Regions from separate parts of the Homo sapiens genome. Here all the other regions are linked to region 4. Evidence: promoter capture Hi-C in 16 types of primary human blood cells and fetal thymus (Javierre and others, 2016). All regions are on one chromosome and are shown on one strand. The core of a region is centred on a gene start or on the middle of the fragment in contact, and the rest is flanking DNA. Distances in the headings are between cores, read along the strand shown. Region 1 overlaps NACA (nascent polypeptide associated complex subunit alpha). Region 2 has its middle 5.3 kb from the start of PRIM1. Region 3 has its middle 14 kb from the start of ATP5F1B. Region 4 holds the start of LRP1-AS (LRP1 antisense RNA). Region 5 overlaps PRIM1 (DNA primase subunit 1).

Region 1 (2,700 bases), core at 110-2,609, 430 kb after region 4:
TGTATTTTTAGTAGAGACGGGGTTTCACCATGTTGGTCAGGTCGGTCTGGAACTCCTGACCTCGTGATCCGCCCTCCCAGGCATCCCGAAGTGCTGGGATTACAGGCATGAGCCACTGTTACAGGCTCTCCAATTCTCTTCTTCCAAAATAGCACCACAATCTGGTTTAACAAGTTAGGTTACAGTTTCATAATACAGTCCCTACCCTTGTGAGTAAGCTCTCTGCCTGGAGGTCTAATTCATGTCTAATTCATCTTGGATTGATGTCTGAAGAATTAACATCACCTAGGAAGGTTTATAGAGACTATTACAGTCCTTTTGTGGTTGGTTTTCTTGTTTGGGTTTTGTGAGTAAGTAAACTGGTAAGGTATAAAGAAGCTAAGTGACTTTAATACTTGATATTAAATTCTGAAGTGTTTCAACTTTAGGAAGAACTGAATTGTGCTGTGCACCTCCTTCCCAAAACTATTCTAACAGAGTCAGATGTTTCCTAGCCTAGTGGAAGCCTGAAAGTATAAAAGCCTGTGTTTTCTTATTCAGTTCAGATTCCCCATCATCGTCACTGCTCACTAACTTCTTTGTTCCAGTTTTCAGTATCTTTTCTGTTCATGATATTTGGGTGGACAGAGTAGCACAGCTGTTCTTCTCGTGGGAATTCTGTTGGCTGTGAGAAAGACTTGGGAATACAGTCCATTTCAAGAAGTAAGGGGAGGGCACAACTGGGAAAGGATAGAAAGCATGTTGTTCTCAACCTACCAAGAGTCTGTGCTCCCCATTTAGAGATAGGCTGCTCTTAGACTGTTCTCCTCACCCTAAAATAGTTGGTTTACTTTGGTAGAACTTGGGGAAGTGTGAGAAATTAGGAGGGGAATGTCTTCTCACTTGACCACTGAAAAATGTTTGGGGAAGGTTGTTGTTGCCTGTCACCTTTATCTAATCCTGCGTGGTGACTTAGACTGTCAGATTTTAAACTCCAGTGTTTCCTAGGAGGCATGTTGTACCAAGTTGGGCTGCATAACTCACCTTTTTTCTCCTCCCCCTCCCCCTTTCTTTATCTCCTTTTGCCTTTCTCCAGCTGTGCTACCTATGTCTTCAGCCTTGAGTGTCACTGCTGCCTTAGGGCAGCCTGGACCTACCCTCCCCCCTCCTTGCTCTCCTGCCCCACAACAGTGCCCTCTCTCAGCTGCTAACCAGGCTTCCCCATTCCCTTCCCCCTCTACTATTGCCTCGACCCCTTTAGAAGTTCCTTTTCCCCAGTCATCCTCTGGAACAGCCCTACCTTTGGGAACTGCCCCTGAAGCCCCAACCTTCCTACCAAACCTAATAGGGCCTCCCATCTCCCCAGCTGCCTTAGCTCTAGCCTCTCCCATGATAGCTCCAACTCTGAAAGGGACCCCTTCCTCTTCAGCTCCCTTAGCTCTGGTTGCCCTGGCTCCCCACTCAGTTCAGAAGAGTTCTGCTTTTCCACCTAACCTTCTTACTTCACCTCCTTCAGTGGCTGTAGCTGAGTCAGGGTCAGTGATAACTCTGTCAGCTCCCATTGCTCCCTCAGAACCAAAGACTAATCTTAATAAAGTTCCCTCTGAGGTAGTCCCTAATCCAAAAGGCACCCCCAGCCCTCCATGTATAGTCAGTACTGTTCCTTACCACTGTGTGACTCCCATGGCCTCTATTCAATCTGGAGTGGCCTCCCTTCCTCAGACAACACCCACAACTACCCTAGCCATCGCTTCCCCTCAAGTCAAAGATACCACCATTTCCTCAGTTCTGATTTCTCCACAAAACCCAGGAAGCCTCAGCCTGAAGGGGCCTGTTAGTCCACCTGCTGCCTTATCTCTTTCAACTCAGTCTCTTCCTGTGGTGACCTCTTCTCAAAAGACTGCGGGTCCCAACACCCCCCCAGATTTTCCCATTTCTCTGGGCTCTCATCTTGCACCTTTACATCAGAGTTCTTTTGGTTCTGTCCAACTTTTAGGTCAAACAGGTCCTAGTGCTTTGTCAGACCCTACAGTGAAGACCATTTCTGTAGATCATTCTTCCACAGGGGCCTCTTATCCTTCTCAGAGATCTGTAATTCCTCCCCTTCCTTCCAGAAATGAGGTAGTTCCTGCTACTGTGGCTGCCTTTCCAGTGGTGGCTCCATCTGTTGACAAAGGTCCCTCTACCATCTCTAGCATAACCTGCAGCCCTTCTGGCTCCTTAAATGTAGCTACCTCTTTTTCATTATCTCCTACAACCTCTCTCATTCTCAAAAGCTCTCCTAATGCCACTTATCATTATCCTTTAGTGGCCCAAATGCCCGTTTCTTCTGTTGGAACCACCCCACTTGTGGTGACTAACCCCTGTACAATTGCTGCAGCACCTACTACTACCTTTGAGGTAGCTACTTGTGTTTCTCCTCCAATGTCATCAGGTCCCATAAGTAACATAGAACCAACTTCCCCTGCTGCCTTGGTTATGGCACCTGTGGCTCCCAAAGAGCCTTCTACTCAAGTAGCAACCACTCTGAGGATACCAGTCTCTCCTCCTCTGCCAGACCCTGAAGACCTCAAAAATCTCCCCAGTTCAGTATTGGTTAAATTTCCAACACAAAAAGACCTCCAAACTGTACCTGCCTCTCTTGAAGGAGCCCCTTTCTCTCCAGCCCAAGCAGGACTCACCACCAAGAAAGACCCTACTGTATTACCGTTAGTCCAGGCA
Region 2 (2,811 bases), core at 171-2,670, 390 kb after region 4:
TTCCAGTCCCTCATTCTCCACAATCCCCTTAAAAACCCCAGCCCAGAACTCCTCAGGGAGATGGACTTGAAGATCTCCTCTCATCTCCTTGCTCAGCCGCCCTGCAATCATTAAACTCTTTCTCTGCTGCAAACCCTACTGTCTCAGTGTATTGGTATGTTGCTGTGCAGTGGGCATACAAACCTGTTGGTCCTGTAACATATTTTCTAATCTTCTCTTCTTTATTTTATTAACAAGGAAAATAACTAACATAGGAGTACTCCAAGTTTTCAAGCAACTTACTTACTTCAACAGGATTTTAACTCCCAAGGCTTCTTGTCAAATATTAATAGGATCAATAGTTTATTTTCATTTTAACCAAATAAAGTAGATGATGAATAATTTTTACTTCCACACTCCTTAACTTGGCAGGCAATGCTCTGACCATGGCTTACCTCTTAGCCCCATCTCTCACTATACCCTCCCTTGAAGTCTGGGCTCTGTCCATATGAAACTATTGGCAGCTTCCCAAAAGTGCCATTTATACTTTTGTGCCTGTGTTCCCTGTACTAATCTTATCCATGTCTTAAGAACATGGCAAAACAAATAGACAGTTGGGTTAAAAATGCACCTATAATACTTCATTACGCTTTTTTGGGGCGGGGGGACAGGGTCTTGCTCTATCACCAGGCTGGAGTACAGTGGCATAATCACAGCTCACTGCAGCCTCAACCTCCTGGGCTCAAGCAATCCACCTCAGCCTCCCTGGGACTACAGGCATGAGCAACCATGCCACACTAATTATTGTATTTTTTGTAGAGATGGGGTTTCGCCATGTTGGCCAGGCTGGTCTCAAACTTCTGAGCTCAAGTGATCCACCTGCCTCTGCCTATCAAAATGCTAGGATTACAGACATGAGCCACCATGCCCAGCTCATTCATTACACTTTTTTATTTGTGTCTATTGCCCCTAGTATGATATAGCTTTCTCAGAAGCAGAAATAATGTCATTAATTATTTTCCCCACAGTTCATCTCAGTGCCCAACACATATGTTCATTAACTATTTGTGGAATAAATGAATGAATTCATGAATGACTGAATCAACCATACCTTTACAGAATAGATCATCCTTTCAGATGCTAAAAACACCCAGAATAACAATAGGACTTAAACTAGACAGGCAATCAATGAGGCAAGTGTCGAAGTCTGCAAACAACATGGGGCAAGAAACTTGAGGCTGATAGATATACCACAAAAAAAGACTAAAAACGATGGTAGAGCCAGGTAGCATAAGGACTGAAGGAAAAAAGGGGTTTGCACCTATGTGTATGAAATCACAAAGGGAAACAAACTGAATGGTGATACTGCCTCCCAGTGGCATTTGAGATAAAGGCCTCTATGCCAGAGCACTTTTTTTTTTTTTTTTTTTTTTTTTGAAATGGAGTCTCACTCTGTCGCCAGTCTGCAGTACAGTGGCGCCATCTCAGCTCACTGCAACCTCCGACTCCCTGGTTCAAGCGATTCTCCTGCCTCAGCCTCCCGAGTAGCTGGGACTACAGGCACATGCCACCACGCCCGGCTAGTAATTTTTTTGTATTTTTAGTAGAGATGGGGTTTCACTATGCTGGCCAGGCTTGTTTCAAACTCCTGACCTCATTATCTGCCTGTCTCGGCCTCCCAAAGTGCTGGGATTACAGGCATGAGCCACCTGGCCTGGCCCGTTCCTCTGAATATACTTAATATACCCGAGGTGGGCTGATTGCTTGAGCCCAGAAGTTCGAGACCAGCCTGGACAACACGGTGAGATCCCATCTCTACAAAAAATAAAAATAACAATAAATTTAAAATTTAACCCTTTTCCCATTTGCCCCAAGAATACTTGCTGGCAGCACTTGTAGCTGCAGCATTTATCCAGAGATAACTTTGCCGTGAAATATCTTGCTTTTATTATTTTCATATTGCTCTAGTATTACTGACTTTGGAAACAAAAGACATCATTCTATTAACAGCATTCTGTTTTCAGTAGTGGTACTTCCACTTACAAAATACAGTAATTCTGATCATTAAAACTGTCAAATCCTAGAAAATGCTGAATTCCTATGTATGATGTTAACATCATTCTTTGATTAATCCACAATTCTAATTATTCCAATGACTTTAATGTTAGTTCTGTTTAGAAATAACTCCAAGAGGCCAGGCGCAGTGGCTCCCACCTGTAATCCCAGCACTTTGGGAGGATGAGGTGGGTGGGTCGCCTCAGGTCAGGAGTTCAAGACCAGACTGGCCAACATGGTGAAACCCCATCTCTACTAAAAATACACAAATTAGCCGGGCATGTGGGCAGGCACCTGTAATCCCAGCTACTCAGGAGGCTGAGGCAGGAGAATGGCTCGAGCCTGGGAGGCAGAGGGTGCAGTGAGCCGAGATTGCACCACTGCATTCCAGCCTGGGCGACTGAGCGGGACTCTACCTCAAAAGAAAGAAAGAGAGAGAAAGAGAGAGAGAGAGAGAGAAAGAAAAAGAAAGAGAAAGAAAGAAAGAGAGAGAGAGAGAGAAAGAACTCCAAGAACAGTTTTTATATTTTATTTTCACATTGGAAATCAGTCAGATTTGTTTCAGCCTCAAAGAGCATGCTTATGTAAAATTAAATGACTGCTGGCAGCGAGCTGCACTTTTTCCTTCCAAACAGGAAAAGCGTTAAAAAAAAAAAAAAAAAAAAAAAGAGGCTAGGCGTGGTGGCTCACGCCTGTAATCCCAGCACTTTGGGAGGCTGAGGCGGGTGGATCACAAGGTCAGGAGATCGAGACCATCCTGGCTAACATGGTGAAACC
Region 3 (2,750 bases), core at 30-2,529, 490 kb after region 4:
GTGGTGACTCATGCCTGGCCAACATGGCAAAACCCCCTCTCAAAAAAAAAAAATGATCAATTTAAGATTGTGAGTGAAATTTTTTAAGTTTAGATGAATGGGTATAGCATATTTTTTGTCCATATTGATAGGTTGTGATATTGGTGCTATACGGTTCCCTAAACTTAGCTATTTCCAAGGAGGGCAGATTGAGGGTGATTGCTACAGTAGCATGAAGGTTTTCTCCCCCATTTTAGTTCTAAGCTAATTGAAATTTCTCCTGTTTAGCAGGAATTCTTTTGAGAAATTTTTGAAAATACAATTTTTTATTTGTGGATCACCCAGCATTGTACCAAATAGGAAAAGATGTAGGCTAGGTAGGGAGGAGGCTGGCACTTTGTGAAAAACTTAACATCTAGTTGCTTTGATAGTGATTAAATAAATTGATAACTAAGGGTGTAATAGGGAATACAGAGTAGGACTTCCTGGTCGAATCTAGCAGCCTGTGCAAATAAGAGGACAACTGAAATGGAGTTCTAGGGTGGCAGTAGGATGGAGAATTTTAACAGTGAATTCTAAGGATTTTTGTAAAGGCCTGTTCTAACCCCTACATTCTGTCATCCTTGAGCACTTGAACCTTGAACAACATGGGTTTGAACCCCTTTTAGGTGGATTTTTTCCAACCAAATGCAGGTCAAAAATACAGTATTTGTAAAATGCCAAACCCATGAATACGGAGGGTTCTGTCTGATTTTGGTATGCTTGGTGGTGGAGGGGTCATGAAACCACTCCTCTGGAATATACCAAGGGACAATTGTGTTTTTTTGTTTTTTGTTTTTTTGAGACAGAGTCTCGCTCTGTCGCTGAGGCTGGAGTGCAGTGGCACAATTTCGGCTCACTGCAATCTCTGAATTCCCAGGTTCAAGCAATTCTCCTGCCTCAGCCTTCCGAGTAGCTGGGACTACAGGCGTGTGCCACCATGCCCAGCTAATTTTTATATTTTTACTAGAGATGGGGTTTCACCATGTTGGCCAGGCTGATCTGTGGGTTTCATTTAAACATTGACCACAATTAAATGTTGAATGTCTATTCCTGCTAGTAAAAAGCGTCGTATATCGCCACCAAATATCTTTCCCTCAACACAGTATGGTGAAATACATTTCAGAAATACCATAGCATGAGTAATGTTTTGCAGGTGGATTTGGAGGTAAAGAAACAAGTTTGTGCAGTAATTCAAGTGGTAAGAGATGAAGGGCTAAATTTAGGCAATGGTAATGGGATCTGGAATCCAGGTATATGTAGGTGGTCAAATAAGGCTTGGTGACAACTCATTTAAGATATTGCCAGGCTTGGCCGGGTGCGGTGGCTCACGCTTGTAATCCCAGCACTTTGGGAGGCCGAGGCGGGCAGATCATGAGGTTAGGAGTTGGAGACCAGCCTGGCCAACACAGTGAAATGCTGTCTCTACTAAAAATACAAAAATTAGCTGGGCATGGTGGCATGCGCCTGTAATCCCAGCTACTCAGGAGGCTGAGGCAGGAGAATTGCTTGAACCCAGGAGGTGGAGGTTGCAGTGAGCTGAGATCAAGCCACTGCACTCCAGCCCACGGGACAGAACTAGACTCCATCTCAAAAAGAAAAAAATAATGATATTGCCAGGCTTGCTTTGCTCTTCCCAGATAGTCTAAAGTGACAAATCATTTGTTCGCAAGTTGTATTGTCAGTCTGGGTAATTTCATTGTTCATGTGAAGAACTTATCCAGAACTCACTCCTAAATTATTTATTTATTTATTTATTTAGACACGGAGTCACTTTTTGACATGGAGGCATGATCTCGGCTCACTGCAGCCTGTTTCCCAGGTTCAAGCGATCCTTCTGCCTCAGCTCTCTGAGTAGCTGGGATTACAGCCATGTGCCACCACTCCTGGCTAATTTTTGTATTTTTAGTAGAGATGGGGTTTCACCTGGTTGGCCAAGCTGGTCTCAAACGCCTGACCTCAAGTGATCCACCCACCTCAGCCTCCCAAAGTGCTGGGATTACAGGATTGAGCCATTGTGCCAGGCCAATCCTGAATTTCTTTTCTTTTCTTTTTTTTTTTTTTTTTTGAGACGGAGTTTTGCTCTTGTTGCCCAGGCTGGAGTGCAGTGGCGTAATCTCAGCTCACTGCAACCTCCATCTCCCAGGTTCAAGAGATTCTCCTGCCTCAGCCTTCCCAAGTAGCTGGGATTATAGGCATGCGCCACCAAGCCCAGCTAATATTGTATTTTTAGTAGAGATGGGGTTTCTCTGTGTGGGTCGGGCTGGTCTCAAACTCCCGACCTCAGGTGATCTGCCCACCTTGGCCTCCCAAAGTGCTGGGATTACAGGCGTGAGCTACCCTGCCCAGCCCCAATCCTAAATTTCTTAATCTCAAATCCAATGGCCTTCAGTTGAGTACTTAGCAACCCATTCCCATTATGTATCTCATCATCATGAGTGAAAGAACTGCAAAGCTGCTTATACTACAACTAAGTGTCATGCAGTCTAACTGCCCCTCAACCACTGTTCCTTCTCTGGCCTCACAGCTAATTAGCCTTTATAGCTTTAGTTACTTCCCTATTTCTATTGCGCTGTGATTCATCTTGAACCTATTCTCAAACAATCAAAATCATGGAGTTTTTTGTGATAATGTGGATTCCTAGGTCTTATCTCTGAGATAAGCTTGTCCATGTGGGGCCAGGGATTTGGAATATTATTGATAACTAGAAACCAGTGATTCCTAAAATGTGA
Region 4 (2,700 bases), core at 86-2,585:
GGAGAGGAAGGGAAAAGTGAAGTTGGCCAGCTGGACCTGGGACCCATTTCGCAACCTTGCTGCCTGCAGCCTAGGGGCCCTTTGCTGAGCTCCCCAGCCACCTCCTTCTTCCCCATGCAGCATGGTGCAGGGAGGGGAACCCTGAGACCTCTGAGAGCCCCTTCAGACCATCCTTTCACACACAGTCCAAACTCCTGAGTGACTTCAGCAAACCCGATTTCCTTCAAGGCCTCTATTTACAACCTCAGAACCTCCCCTCACCATACACACCCATGTTCCCAGGACCCCAATCTTGCAGTCTGCCTCATTCTTTCTACAGTGGTGGCATCCTCCAAGGTGAAGGGAATACAGATCAGAGGAGCTCAGCTTAGGAAATGCAGGGCTGGGCTGGGGTCGGTAGACTGCACCACCAGGCCTGCCCAGGGGCAGCCTGGCAGGAGGCTGGACAAAGCTGGGTTACAGGCTCCATAGGCCTCTGGAGCTGAGAGACTGGTCAGAGGTGGGGGTGAGAGTGCGCAGGCCTGGTTCCTGACTAAGGGACTATCAGGCCTGTTGATCCCTCTGGGCCTCAATTTTCAGAACTTTAGTCTTTTGTGTATCACTTTCAAAATGTCTACCATGCTTATGTACAGCTTGCGCTACTGTTTATTACCAGTTATTTCAATTAACTTACTTTTCTTATTTCGCTGCATGCTAAACAATTGCTGAAGTAACAGATTTGATGTGCTAGTTACAGGAGTTTCCTAATGCATATCAAATAAAAACGTAACTATAACAGTTAAAAAAAAAAAAAAAAAGCTTGTCCAGGTACCATCTAAAATCAAATCAATGCATAGCCCCTTTGAGAAAGCAGTAGTGAAAGCCAGGGCTGCTCTTGGTACTGGCCAAGGGTCTTGCCTTCTCTTCCGGCTCTCACCATGGAGTTCTCTGGTCTTGGAATTCGAGCCTCATAGACCTCCCCAAACCACTGGGCCAGCGGCAGAGGGGAGGGGGAGGTAATCTCAGGTGGGAGGAAAAGAGATGACCCACCCAATCCAGGGGGATAACACTGGGCCTGAGGCAGGAGGGTCAGCAGCCCTGGGGCATTGAAGAGGAATGTTCACACACTGCAGGGCCTCAGGGGGGCCCTCGGGGGCTCTCAGGACTCCACAACAGGTCTGACTCACATGGCCCAGGACACATGTGAACCAGGCTCATTTCCTGGCCTCCTTCCTTCTTTCTATTCTATTTCTGCTTCCAGAGTTTTCTCTGGGGCAGGCTCCCCCTTCTGCCTGCACCAGCGGGCTGGCCTCGCTGGCTCGAACACCCCTCAATTGTCAGACTCCTCCCTCTGTGTGCACCCCTGCTGCATGAGGCTCAGCCCCAGGGGTCCAACAGAGGTCACAGTCACAGCACAGAATGGAAGGCTTGCAGGGAGGGCTGCCCTGGAGGGCAGAGTGAAAGCAGGGGAAAGCTGCAGCCTTTCTTCTTCGTCCTCCTTGGGGAGCTAATTACAGGCCAGCAGCCACTGTGCAGGTGAGTGCCTGGGACCAGCCACCCTACACACCAGGGCAGGCCAGTCAGCATCTCCTGGGGAGGGGGATGACCCAGAAACTGGGGGAGGGGCTAGGGGAGAGACACTGACGTCCTCAGTTTGGGACCCATAATTAGTTTGTGGGAGAGAGCAAAACAACCATCCTCAGGGTGACAGCCAGACATTCAGGCGGCAGGGACGTGGAGCAGGGGGAGGGCAGGGAGGAAGGGACAGAAGCTGGGATGAGAGAAACCCACTCATTTACCCCACAAGCATTTCCCCTTGGACTCTTCTAGCCTCCTGGACTCTGCCCCTGAGAGGCCCAGTGAGTTTAGCAGACTGGGAGGCAAGGCAAATCTGTTTGCCAAGGGAGGGGTACCAGCTTCTCCTGGGGAGGAAGTCAGATAAGGAGATGAGGCCAGAGTAGAAGTTGAGAAGGTTACCTCCAGGACACCCCATAGCCACCTACCCAGAAGCCCACTGTATGGCAAGATGCAGGGCTGGGGAGGAAACTGACAAGCTGTCTGCCCAGACAGGCCTGTTGAGTAGGTCAGTGGACAAGGAACAGGGGGAGGGCAGCTGCACAAGAGGGTCTAGCACCAATCCCACCCCATCAGCCATGGGGTTCCCTGAGTCGCCCACTCGTTAAGAGCTCAGCCAACCAGGCTTGACAGCCCCCAGCTCAGCACCCCAAGGAGGACACATGTCTGATCACAGGTGAGCTGTGGACAGCAGCAGCCCAAGGACGCTATCAGGGATGCTCTGGAGGAGCCAAAGGCAGAAATGTGAACCTTACGCTGAGGCCACGGAGAGTGAGGGCTCTCAGAGGAACCCCTGCTCGCCACCATCCCGGGGAGGGGCCTTTCTCTCTCCCAGAATGAATCCCTTGTAACCTCCTGGGATCTTTCTTTTCATCACAAGAACCAAATAAAGAAACTTGAAGATCTTCTAGAGAGGCCCAAGGTTCACAATCCTCAACTTCAAAGTGTGCTGTCCTTTACCACTGGCTTTCACTCCAGTTAATCTGATCTAGACAGACAAGCTCAAACCCATTATGCAGATTAGGAAACCAAGGCAGAGATGGGAATTCTGGTTTACTAAACAGTTACAGATCAAGTTAATCTCCCTTAGGGGGTCAGATCAACCACAGGCCAGATTCTTCCTCTCAGCCCTGTGGTGCATTTCTT
Region 5 (2,792 bases), core at 191-2,690, 410 kb after region 4:
GACCCTGGCTGGAGTGGGAGATTATGCTCCAGTACTGTTTTCCACGGCTGGATATCAATGTCAGCAAAGGAATCAATCATCTACTGAAGAGCCCTTTTAGTGTTCATCCTAAAACAGGTACTACACAAGGAAACTAAGGAAAACTAAAAGAAAAATGAGTTGCTATTGGCTTTAGTAAGCATGGCATTAGGTCTGAATATATATAATGTCTATGATTTAAAGGTAGAAGAATTGCTCTGTCACCCAATACCTAAGTCAGTTAAGTAGCTACCAGATGAGTTTCTACTATGTAACTGTTTTTCAGTTGGGTTTCTGAGGTTCCATATTAGATTTGGAGAGGACCATCAAAATCTTAGGACAACAGCTCTCATTGTACAGATGAGAAAACAGTGGCCCAAGATGTAACCCATCCAAGGTCATAAAAAAAAAATTGTGTGTGACTGTATGTGGTAGCTTGCTCCTGTAATCCCAGCACTTGAGGAGGGCAAGGTGGGCAAATCACTTGAGCCCCAGAGTCTAACACCAGCCTAGGCCACATGTCTAAACACCCTTTGTACAAAAAATACAAAAATTAGCTAGACGTGGTGGTGCATGCCTGTAGTTCCAGCTACTCAAGAGGCTGAGGCAGGAGGATCACTTGAGCCTGGGAAGTTGAGGCTGCAGTGAGCTGTGATGGTGCCACTGCACTCCAGCCTGGGCAACAGAGTGAGACCCTGTCTCAAAAAAAAGAAAAAAAGAAAGAAATGAAATGAACTCTACTCCTAGCACTGACAAAAACAAAAAAAAATTTTTTTCGAGAAAGAGTCTCACTCTGTCACCCAGGCTGGAGTGCACTGGTGCAATCTCGGCTCACCGATCGGCTCAAGCGATCCTTCTGCCTCACCCTCCTGAGTAGCTGGTACTACAGGCATGTGCTACCACAGCCAGCTAATATTTTGTAGACAGGGTTTTGCCATGTTGCCCAGGTTGGTCTTGAACTCTTGAGCTCAAGCAATTCACCTGCCCCAGTCTCCCAAAGTGCTGGGATTACAGACAAGAGCCACTGCGCCCAGCCTCATTACGTCACTTTTGAGATGTGTTAAATTCTATATGGTATCCTAGGGGGGTATTATAAAAGAGTAGAGGAATTTCTATTTTATTTCCTAAATGCTTTTTAAAGGTGTCTGACATGTGGGTATCTGTATTGATCTCAAATAAACCAAGCCAATGTAAATATTATAGTTTCATCTATTTTGTTCTATTTTCAGGACTCACTAACTCTGAGATTGTTCTGAACTTAAATATGGAATATTTAAATATACTTTATTTCTAAATATAGAAATAAAAGTAGGGATAAGAGCAACTGGGAAATAGCTCAACAGTCTTCACATTTGCTTATTGGTTTTTGTTTTTGTTTTTTTTCTTTCCTTTTTTTTCGAGACAGAGTCCCACTCTGTCACCCAGGCTGGAGTACAGTGGCGCGATCTTGGCTCACTGCAGCCTCTGCCTTCCAGGTTCAAGCAATTCTCTGCCTCACCCTCCCAAGTAGCTGGGATTACAGGTACCCGCCACCACACCCAGCTAATTTTTGTATTTTTAGTAGAGACGGGGTTTCACCATCTTGGCCAGGCTGGTCTTGAACTCCTGACCTTGTGATCCACCCTCCTCAGCCTCCCAGAGTGCTGGGATTACAGGCGTGAGCCACTGCACCTGGCTGGTTTTTTAAAGAGAAATAAAAGGCATGCTGGACATGGTCATTCACACCTGTAATCCCAGCAACTCAGGAGGCTGAGGCAAGAGGATTGTTTGAGGCCAGGAGTTCTGGGCAACATAGTGAGACCCCAACTCAACAAAAATTGAAAAACTGGCCAGGCCAGGAGCAGTAGCTCACGTCTATAATCCTAGCACTTTGGGAGACAACTGAGGTGGGAGGATCACTTGAGCCCAGGACATCAAGCCTGCAGTGAGCTATGACCATGCTACTGTATGTACTCTAGCATGGGTGACAAAGTGAGGCATTAACTCTAAAAAAGAGTAAGGGCACAGCTAATGTGAAAGTAATTTATATTTCTAAATACTCTTCTTAACAGATAAGTTTAACCCTTTGTCTAAGCCTTAAATAAAAATTTTAACCAAAAATAACCTGTAGGAGATGACTATAATGATTTATAGTCCACAATCATCAGTTTATAACTTTTGTGTCTTACAGGTCGCATATCTGTGCCTATTGATTTGCAGAAAGTGGACCAGTTTGATCCATTTACTGTTCCGACCATAAGGTATGTTTCAGATCATTGATCACTCCTTGTTTGTAATTGTTGTTATGAATTTTAAATAAATTGAATTAGCCTCCTTAGAGAAGTAGTTGCATGGGAATGGTATATTTGGTTATGGAAACCAAATAAGGTTCAAAGGTTAGATGACGATGCCCTAATAGAACAATACAAGATTTTCACCTGCTGTTATGTAAGAAAAAGATTTTAAGGTCAAGTAAATTTAGGAAATTCTGACTTAAACAGATTAAAAGTATCTTTTACTACAGTATTTCACAGTCTTTCATATGATAATATGCATGAAAAACTCCAAGAAGAGATCATGGTGTTTAGAATATCCCAAATTTAGCTGGCCGCATAATTTTTTTACAGTAAATTTTATGGGATTCACATGCTATTATACACTGGATAATGCTGATCAGAAACCAACATTAAACTTCTCTTGTTCGTGGTGAGGCGCGGTGGCTCATGCCTGTAATCCCAACACTTTGGGAGGGCAAAGCGCGTGGATCACAAGGTCAAGAGATCGAGACCATCCTG

What was found. The method cuts DNA at HindIII sites, captures the fragments that hold promoters and counts their contacts. A CHiCAGO score of 5 or more calls a contact.
Region 1: a fragment that was not itself captured here is called in contact with the fragment with the promoter of LRP1-AS in region 4 in 2 of 17 cell types (M0 macrophages and M1 macrophages); the score reaches 6.4 in M0 macrophages.
Region 2: a fragment that was not itself captured here is called in contact with the fragment with the promoter of LRP1-AS in region 4 in 4 of 17 cell types (M2 macrophages, M0 macrophages, total CD8 T cells and 1 more); the score reaches 6.9 in M2 macrophages.
Region 3: a fragment that was not itself captured here is called in contact with the fragment with the promoter of LRP1-AS in region 4 in 1 of 17 cell types (monocytes); the score reaches 5.3 in monocytes.
Region 5: a fragment that was not itself captured here is called in contact with the fragment with the promoter of LRP1-AS in region 4 in 3 of 17 cell types (total B cells, total CD8 T cells and activated CD4 T cells); the score reaches 5.7 in total B cells.

What each region holds. Positions count from the first base shown.
Region 1 is chr12:56,719,835-56,722,534 of GRCh38, reverse strand. It overlaps NACA (nascent polypeptide associated complex subunit alpha), which reads left to right. Exons shown (of 9, transcript NM_001365896.1): 3 at 1,076-2,700. Among named protein-coding and RNA genes, the nearest start is that of NACA, 4.1 kb to the left of the region's middle. RefSeq lists an enhancer at 1,600-1,719. The HindIII fragment of the contact is 4,291 bases long and covers 1-2,700 here.
Region 2 is chr12:56,756,224-56,759,034 of GRCh38, reverse strand. No RefSeq gene overlaps it. Among named protein-coding and RNA genes, the nearest start is that of PRIM1, 5.3 kb to the right of the region's middle. The HindIII fragment of the contact is 3,519 bases long and covers 1-2,811 here.
Region 3 is chr12:56,658,967-56,661,716 of GRCh38, reverse strand. No RefSeq gene overlaps it. Among named protein-coding and RNA genes, the nearest start is that of ATP5F1B, 14 kb to the right of the region's middle. RefSeq lists a silencer at 1,046-1,246. The HindIII fragment of the contact is 2,808 bases long and covers 1-2,683 here.
Region 4 is chr12:57,146,254-57,148,953 of GRCh38, reverse strand. It overlaps LRP1-AS (LRP1 antisense RNA), which reads left to right and starts at 1,335. Exons shown (of 2, transcript NR_131938.2): 1 at 1,335-1,515. All of the region lies in intron 6 of LRP1 (LDL receptor related protein 1), which reads right to left. RefSeq lists an enhancer at 1,793-2,700. The HindIII fragment of the contact is 5,560 bases long and covers 801-2,700 here.
Region 5 is chr12:56,738,760-56,741,551 of GRCh38, reverse strand. PRIM1 (DNA primase subunit 1) reads left to right here. Exons shown (of 13, transcript NM_000946.3): 9 at 1-117; 10 at 2,189-2,258. Among named protein-coding and RNA genes, the nearest start is that of PRIM1, 12 kb to the left of the region's middle. The HindIII fragment of the contact is 3,398 bases long and covers 1-2,792 here.